Regions from separate parts of the Homo sapiens genome. Here region 1 is linked to region 2. The links are contacts of gene promoters, found by promoter capture Hi-C in blood cells and fetal thymus (Javierre and others, 2016). All regions are on one chromosome and are shown on one strand. Each heading gives the region's core, a stretch centred on a gene start or on the middle of the fragment in contact. The rest is flanking DNA. Distances are from core to core; before and after follow the strand shown.

Region 1 (4,158 bases), core at 600-3,099, 220 kb before region 2:
TCAGTGACATTGCTCAAGGCTCTGAATCCAACTAGGCCTGAAGGCTACCCTCCCTAACCCAGTAAATTCCATTTACTCCTGGAAGCTGGGTATTTGTCACTTGCAATTGGTAGATTGCTGACTAATGCATACTGCATCAACAGTACTTAGCACAGTGTTTGACACACATTAGGCACTGTAAACTTCTTTGCTCACTCATACAGTCATTCAACAAACACTCAGCAGTGTGAAGGTGACTGCGTGTGTTCTATAAGAAGAGTCATCGCAGCTGCTGTTGACAGAGGTGACTACATGGACAGGAGTAGGAAGAGGGAGACCCACAAGAAGCAATGCAGCAGTCCCAGGGACAAAGAGGAGGCCTGAAGCAGGTGGCTGAGACCAAGGGAAGAGGAGGGAGGGAAGAGTCCCAACTCTAAATTCACTGGAGAACCTCTGACAATCCCTGCCCCTCTCTGGCCTCAGTAGCCCAGTCTGTTTCAGATCCATCATCCTAGCATCCCCAAGCTTTCCCCCACTGATTACAGAGTCCCTGCCTGTCGACACTCAACATTGTCACTACAGAGTGCTGGGGGGAAGGGCAGGGTGGGCTCTGGGGTTGGGACCCGACAGGCAGGGAGTATAGTTTAGCAGCTAAGGACACGGGCTCTGGAGCCAGGTGCTTGGGATTAGAACCTGGCCTGCACCTCCTAATTATGCGACCTTGTATAATCTGCTCAATCTCTCTTTTCCTTTGTTTTCTCATCTATGAAATGAGGATAATAACAATAGTGCTGGGAAGATTATATATTATCACAGAAAGAAAGCACGCTTTAATGTTAGGCACCATTATTATTATTATTATTATTTGTAGTAGGAAGTCCAGAAAGAGGAGATTGAACACACAGAATAGAAACCATTCCTAAATTAATAGAAAATTTCCCTGAACGAAAGGAAGACTTGGGTCTTCAGACTGAAAGGACTTACCTAGTTAGGACCAGGAAAAATTACCAAAAGAAAACAAACAACTAGAAATCATCTGGGGAAATTTCTGAATTCCAAAGATTGGAAAGAGGAATCCTGGTTGTTTCCATAAATAAATTTTAGAGAATCAAGGAAAAACTGCTCTTAAAACACTAAATACTGGGGAAACCACAGAACACTGCTCTCAGGCTTCTGGGAGAGAAGGACGATTCACTTAGAATTTTCTACTCAAGCAAACTATGACTCAAACATGAGGGCAAATGTTTTCAGGCTTACAAGGATAAGAAAGGATACCACCCACAGACCCTTTCTGGAAAAATTACTCAAGAAAGCTCTACAGACAAAAGTGAATTAAAATCGAGAAGTCAAGAATGAGATGACGTGGTATGTGAGAGACAGAGGCAAGCCATGAAAACGGAAACATTTAGAGCCTTAACTACTGATAACTGAAAGTTAAGTGCAATTTTAAGTAAATAATTCTTAAAACAGAATAGTGCTAATGTTTAAAAATAGTCACAACCGGCCAGGGTGGCTCACGCCTGTAATCCCAGCACTTTGGGAGGCCAAGGCAGGCAGACCACGAGGTCAGGAGTTCGAGACCACCCTGACCAACAGGGTGAAACTCTGTCTCTACTAAAAATACAAAAATTAGCTGGGCGTGGTGGCGGGCGCCTGTAATCCCAACTACTCAGAAGGCTGAGGTAGGAGAATCGCTTGAACCTGGGAGATGGAGGTTGCAGGAGCCGAGATTGCACCACTACACTCCAGCCTGGGCGACAGAGCGAGACTCTGTCTTTAAAAAAAAAAAATAGTCACAACCGGAAACCGAAATTCCAGACAATTATAACAATACCTAGGAGGTATGGAGGAAAGCAGAGAAGTATGGTCCAGCCGACATGATCATTATGGGTTAGAGGCCACGAGGACAGGCTACTATGGATCTGGTGTCATTCCTGATGTTGAAATATGTTTGTGACAAAGGTAAGGGTAAAGCCACTAGCAGACTAGAATTAGGGTGTATAACTCCAAAGGAAATTTTGCAGAATAATAGGGGTTGGCCTTGGGATGTTTACTACTAAACCATATTCTGAAGCTAAAGTCATTAAGTCTAACCTGATGTAGGAATAGACAGATCAAAGAGGGAGATGAGAGAGCTTAGAAACCAAACCATCCATATGTGGAAATTTGGTCTATGATAAGTGAAGAAAGGAAAGACAATTCAAAAAAATCGGGTTGGAAAAACTGGTCAAACCATTTGGGGGAAAAAATTAATAAGAGTTCCATCTGACACCAGGCATTAAATTAATTGCAGATGAATTTAAAATGTAAATGCAAAAAATAAAAGAATAAAAGTAGCTGAATAAAATTTAGATGAATATTTCTCATAATCTAGGGGTAGGAAAGACCTTAGAAAATATAGGTGCTCTCAACCCCCCAAAAAAACTTGATTATAAAAAAAGTTAACTTCTAAATGATAAAAGATACTATAAAGTTAGAAGGCAAATGACAAACTAGAAAAATAATTATAACCCATATAATAAGCAAATGGTTAATAGTCTAACCACATAAAGAGCTCTTACAAATGAGATAACGCCTCAGTAAAAAACTGGGCAAATGACATGAATGAACTGACAAGCCAAAGCAGAAATATAGGTGACTGATCAACATAAAATGAGGCTGGACGCAGTGGCTCACGCCTGTAATCCCAGCACTTTGGGAGGCTGAGGTGAGTGGATCACTTGAGGTCAGAAGTTCAAGACCAGCCTGGCCAACATGGTGAAACCCCATCTCTACTAAAAATACAAAAATGTAGCTGGGTATGATGGCGTGTGCCTGTAGTCCCAGTTACTCAGGAGGCTGAGGCAGGAGAATAGCTTGAACTCAGAAGGTGGAGGTTGCAGTGAGCCAAGATGGCGCCACCGCACTCCAGCCTTGTGACAGAGCAAGACTCCATCTCCAAAAATAAAACAAAATGAATCTCAACCTCACTAATAATGAAATAAATGTCAATTAAGATTAAATATAATTTTTCACTTCTTGTACCAACAAAGAATTAAAAGCAATAACATTCCATTTTATGCAGGGTGTAGGGAAGCAGGCACTCTCATTCACTGTGAGTAGGAATGCAAATTGTACATGTACTTAACCTCTGTTCCTTTGGTTTCTCAACTATAAAATAGGATAAGAACAATAGTGTTGGGGAGATGACATGTGTAAACAGAAGGAAAGCTTTTTTAGAGCACTTCGGTAGTGTGTGCCACACTCTCTCCTAACAGAAAAGTGCGGCAAGATGTTTATTGCAACATTGTTCAGAATATCAAAACATTAGAAACAATCTAATCATGCATCAATAAATTAAATACATTATGGTCCACTGGCTATTCAAAATAGAGGGAGAAGTTTAGGTGCTGATGGAAAATATTTCTTTCTTTTTTTTGGAGACGGAGTTTCTCTCTTGTCGCCCAGGCTGGAGTGCAACGGCACAATCTCGGCTCATTGCAACCTCCGTCTCCAGGGTTCAAGTGATTCTCCTGCCTCAGGCTCCCCAGTAGCTGGGATTACAGGCACCCAGCACCACACCTGGCTAATTTTTGTATTTTTTAGTAGAGATGGGCTTTCGCCATGTTGGCCAGGCTGGTCTCGAACTCCTGACCTCAGGTGATCTGCCCACCTCGGCCTCCCAAAGTGCTGGGATTACAGGTGGGAGCCATAGCGCCCAGCCACGAAAATATTTCTATAATTATATAATATATATTTCTATAATATATTTATATATAATATTATATATACATATATATATATATATATATATATATATATATTTTTTTTTTTTTTTTTTTAAACAGAGTTTCCCTCTGTTGCCCAGGCTGGAGTGCAGTGGTGTGATCACAGCTCACTGCAGCCTTGGCCTCTCAGGCTCAAGCGATCCTCCCACCTCAGCTTCCCAAGTAGCTGGGACTCCAGGCACATGCCACCATGCCTGGATAATTTTTTTTATTTTTTGTAGCGATGGGGTCTCACTATATTGCCTAGGCTTGTCTTCAACTCCTGGACTCAAGTGATCATCCCACCTCAGCCTCCCAAAGTGCTGTGATTACAGGTGTGAGCCACCATTCCTGGCCTATATCTTTATAGATGAGTTACAAAAATGTATGTATAATATGATATTATTTAGTAAAACAAAACATAGCATATGTC
Region 2 (3,908 bases), core at 959-3,458:
CACCTGTAATCCCAGCTACTTAGGAGGCTGAGGCAGGAGAATCGCTTGAACCAAGGAGGCGGAGGTTGCAGTGAGCCGAGATCGCACCACTGCACTCCAGCATGGGCAACAGTCACTCACATGGCTGGCATTTGGTGCTAGCTATTGGATGGGCCATGTCTCTGAAACAGACTAGCCTGGTCCTCTTCCCATGCTGGCAGTGTGCCAAGAGGATGGGAGCAGAAACTGCAAGGCCTTTTGAAGCTTAAACTCAGAAGTCCCACGATGTCACTCCTGCTGCATTCTATTGGTCAAAACAAGTTACAAAGCCAGCCTTGATGGGAAGAGCTACAAAGAAGTTGTGGTCGTTTTTAATCTATCACACCCTGATGTTGGCCTGAATCCAGCTGGTAGGTAGAGAGAAGGTTTTTATTTTTATAATGTTTGGGAGGCAGAATTGAGAAGTCTCGGGGATTGTTCTTGAACGAGGAAGCAAGGGTAAAGTTACAAATGACTCCTAGATCCTTGGCTTGGGTGATTGGTGAATGGTAGTGCCCAGCACTTACAGGGAAAAGAGGGGGAACAGGTTTGAGGGGAAGATGATGTTTCCAGTATGAGTCATGTCAAGAATGAGGTGTCTTTTAAACTGCCAGTTGCAGATGGGCGGGTGGCAGGTGGATATACAGGTCCGACTCAGGGAGAGGCCTGGCTACAGGTACCAGTTTGGGAGTCTTTCGTGCCTGAAGCCTAAAGCCTCTCTCTCAGAGGGAAAAACATCCCCAGAGCAGGAACATCTTGGGTGCAGAGATCTAGTAACTCACCTCTGTAGCTGCACTGAGCCTAGCCCAGTGTCCCAGGACAAAGCAGTGAGTCTATCCTGGTTGTAGCTTGCCAGGCTGTTGTGGGGGAAAGGGATTAAGTCTGTAAGGAGAGCCATTGGTTCTGAGCGAAGATCAGAGTTTCAAGTGGCATACGGGTAGATACTTTCTCCTGCCAGAAGGAAATCTCCCAACAATAGGTCACTAGCTTAGAAAGTAATCAGCCCATCATTACAGAGTGAGCATCAACTAGGGCTACAGATACTTCATCAGGGATGCCATGGAGGGGATCCCTTCCCTGGACTGGAAAACAGACCCAATAGCCAGTATGTGGAGGCAAACTTCTCTCACCATTCCCACCCCCTCAAAGGCACCCAATTTTCAGAAACTCCACAAATCTTCATTGAAGGCTGTTTTGCCAGATCAACACTGCAGAGGCACCTACTAGGGTTCAAAATAAATGTTGGGGCCGGGCGCGGAGGCTCATGCCTGTAATCCCAGCACTTTTGGAGGCTGTGGCAGGTGGATCACCTGAGATCAGGAGTTCGAGACCAGCCTGGCCAACATGATGAAACCCCATCTCTACTAAAAATACAAGAATTAGCCGGGCATGGAGGCGCGCACTTGTAGTCCCAGCTACTTGGGAGGCTGAGGCAGGAGAATCGCTTGAACCTGGGAGGCAGAGGTTGCAGTGAGCCGAGATCGCGCGACTGCACTTCAGCCTGGACGACAGAGCAAGACTCCGTCTTAAAAATAAATAAATGTTGGCTAGGATCCCTGCCATTGATTCATTCAACAAACATTCAACAAGCCCCTACTATATACCAAGCCCCATACTGTGCACCAGGAATACGGAGATGAATAGACTCTAGTCTGGTAGCAATGCGACCGCAGCTGTAAAAACTGTGTTTCTACAACTGTCTTCCCATTTGGATCTCAAGAAGGTACTGAGGGGTCTCTTCTTGCTATGGTACTAGGCTGTAATGGTTCAATGAAAAAAAAAAAACGAAAGGAATAGAGGAGTGGGGAGCTGGGGGAGTGTCCAAAGGAGGAATTTCTAGTCGAAATCAGGGAAACTCCAAAGAAATACGGCAACACGTATGTCTGAGCGACCAATAATTTAAAAGATGACCTTTATTAAGTGCTTTCTCCATAGCTATTACAAAGGTACCCGTTTTGCTTGGATTGTCTAGATTCTTCTGGCAGCGGAGTCCTGGGCACAAGCGTCCTCTCCTCTGGACCTGATCACGAAGAGAGTAGCGCCGGGCGCTCAGTTCCCGTCCCAGCTTTAGGCGAACGGAACTGCGGTTCGGCGGCCTGCGAGGGTGCCCGGAGGCTTTTCTCCAGCACTCCCGCCCTAGCAACGTGCGCCTGCTGCTAGGGGCGGAGGCGCGGGAGGGCTCGGAGGCTGTTCCCACCCCCAGGCTCCGCGTTCCCGCCGGCCCCAGCTCCAGCCCCGCAGCCCACCGGTGGGTACTGAGCCTGAGGTGGGAGAAAGGGGCATAGCGGCAGACTAGGAGCGGGCAACCCTCGCCCTTTGGTCGAAGCGGAGAGCGGTTATGAGGGCCAACCTTGGGCTGGGTGGCGCTAGGTTCCCATCTTCGGGGACTCTTCTCCCCGCTTTCCACATACACATAAAAAATAAGCTTTAGGCCGGGCGCGGTGGCTCACGCCTGGAATCCTAGCACTGTGGGAGGCCGAGGCGGGTGGATTGCCTGAGCTCAGGAGTTCGAGACCATCCTGGGCAACACAGTGAAACCCTGTCTCTACTAAAATACAAAAAATTAGCCGGGAGTGGTGCCGTGCGCCTGTAGCTACTTGGGAAGCTGAAGCAGGAGAACTGCTAGAACCCGGGAGGCGGAGGTTGCAGTGAGCCGAGATCGCGCCACTGCACTCCAGCCTGGGTGACAGAGCGAGACTCGAGACTCCGTCTCTTGAAAACAAAAACAAAAACAAATTAAGCTTTAGTTGTTCATATAATGGGCAGGGAGAGGAGCATTTGCCATCTGAAGCGACAGAAAGGAAAAACTGCACACAAGTCGTCCCCAAAATTTGAGGCAACCGTGAGAGTGGTGGCCTAGAACTGGCTCCCTGTGTGACTCTAGGCAAGACCCTCTTATTCCCTGGGCCTCGGTTTCCCCTATCTGTACCATTAGAGGGTCGAACCAGACCAGCTTCCAGGTGTTTCTACTCATACTTTTCTTTCTTTGAGCATTGTTTTGGCGACTAAAGATGCCTTGGTCTCCCAGAGTGTAAGACAGAAGTGTGCAGAGGGAGATTTGGGGAGACGGAGGGAGATAAGATATCAGCATTTGCATTAACGGGACCAGGGAAATAAGGTCCAGTCCACCCGGCTCTGCCCCTGTGACCTTCAGCAAGTCACAGCCCTCTGAGTCCCAGTTTCTTCATGGAATAGAACAGTCGGATAGGTACTGGTGTATATCAAGGAATATTGCACTGGAGAGTTAAAAGAGAATTCTCTGCTTTCTGTTTAGGGTGGTTTAGAGTGACTACTGGATATCCCAAGGCCTTTGGAAAGCAGATTGGAATAGAAAGAAGTGATGGGATTCAGACCGAGGCCTGGTTCCAACTGGAACCAACAGGGACATCCAGAGCCATAACTGAATCTGTAGATTTTCCCATGTCCTCTCCAGCCTTTCTGGGTCTGGAGCCTGGGATGAAACAGGGTGACTGCTCTCTAAGGGATATGTTGTTGGGCAGGTTAAAAGGGCGCTTATGTTGTTGGGTCCCTAAAAAGTGTACCACTGGGCCGGGCACGGTGGCTCACACCTGTAATCCCAGCATTTTGGGAGGCCAAGGTGGGCGGATCAACTGAGATCGGGAGTTCGAGACCAGCCTGACTAATATGGAGAAATCCTGTCTCTACTAAAAACACAAAATTAGCTGGGCGTGGTGGCAGGCGCCTGTAATCCCAGCTACTCAGGAAGCTGAGGCTGGAGAATCGCTTGAACCTGGGAGGTGGAGGTTGTGATGAGCTGAGATGGTGCCATTGCACTCCAGCCTGGGCAACAAGAGAGAAACTCCATCTCAGAAAAAAAAAAAAAAAATAGCGTACCACCAAGCCGACTCTTCATCTTAGTATTCCATTCA

Evidence for each region. Contacts are between HindIII fragments. The CHiCAGO score rates a contact against its expected background, and 5 or more counts as called.
Region 1: a fragment that was not itself captured here is called in contact with the fragment with the promoter of WDR31 in region 2 in 1 of 17 cell types (erythroblasts); the score reaches 6.0 in erythroblasts.

The regions. Positions count from the first base shown.
Region 1 is chr9:113,553,084-113,557,241 of GRCh38, reverse strand. The region is part of intron 17 of RGS3 (regulator of G protein signaling 3); the gene reads right to left. Among named protein-coding and RNA genes, the nearest start is that of RGS3, 91 kb to the right of the region's middle. The HindIII fragment of the contact is 2,685 bases long and covers 507-3,191 here.
Region 2 is chr9:113,338,575-113,342,482 of GRCh38, reverse strand. It overlaps WDR31 (WD repeat domain 31), which reads left to right and starts at 2,208. Exons shown (of 11, transcript NM_001012361.4): 1 at 2,208-2,266. RefSeq lists a silencer at 2,199-2,438. The HindIII fragment of the contact is 2,200 bases long and covers 246-2,445 here.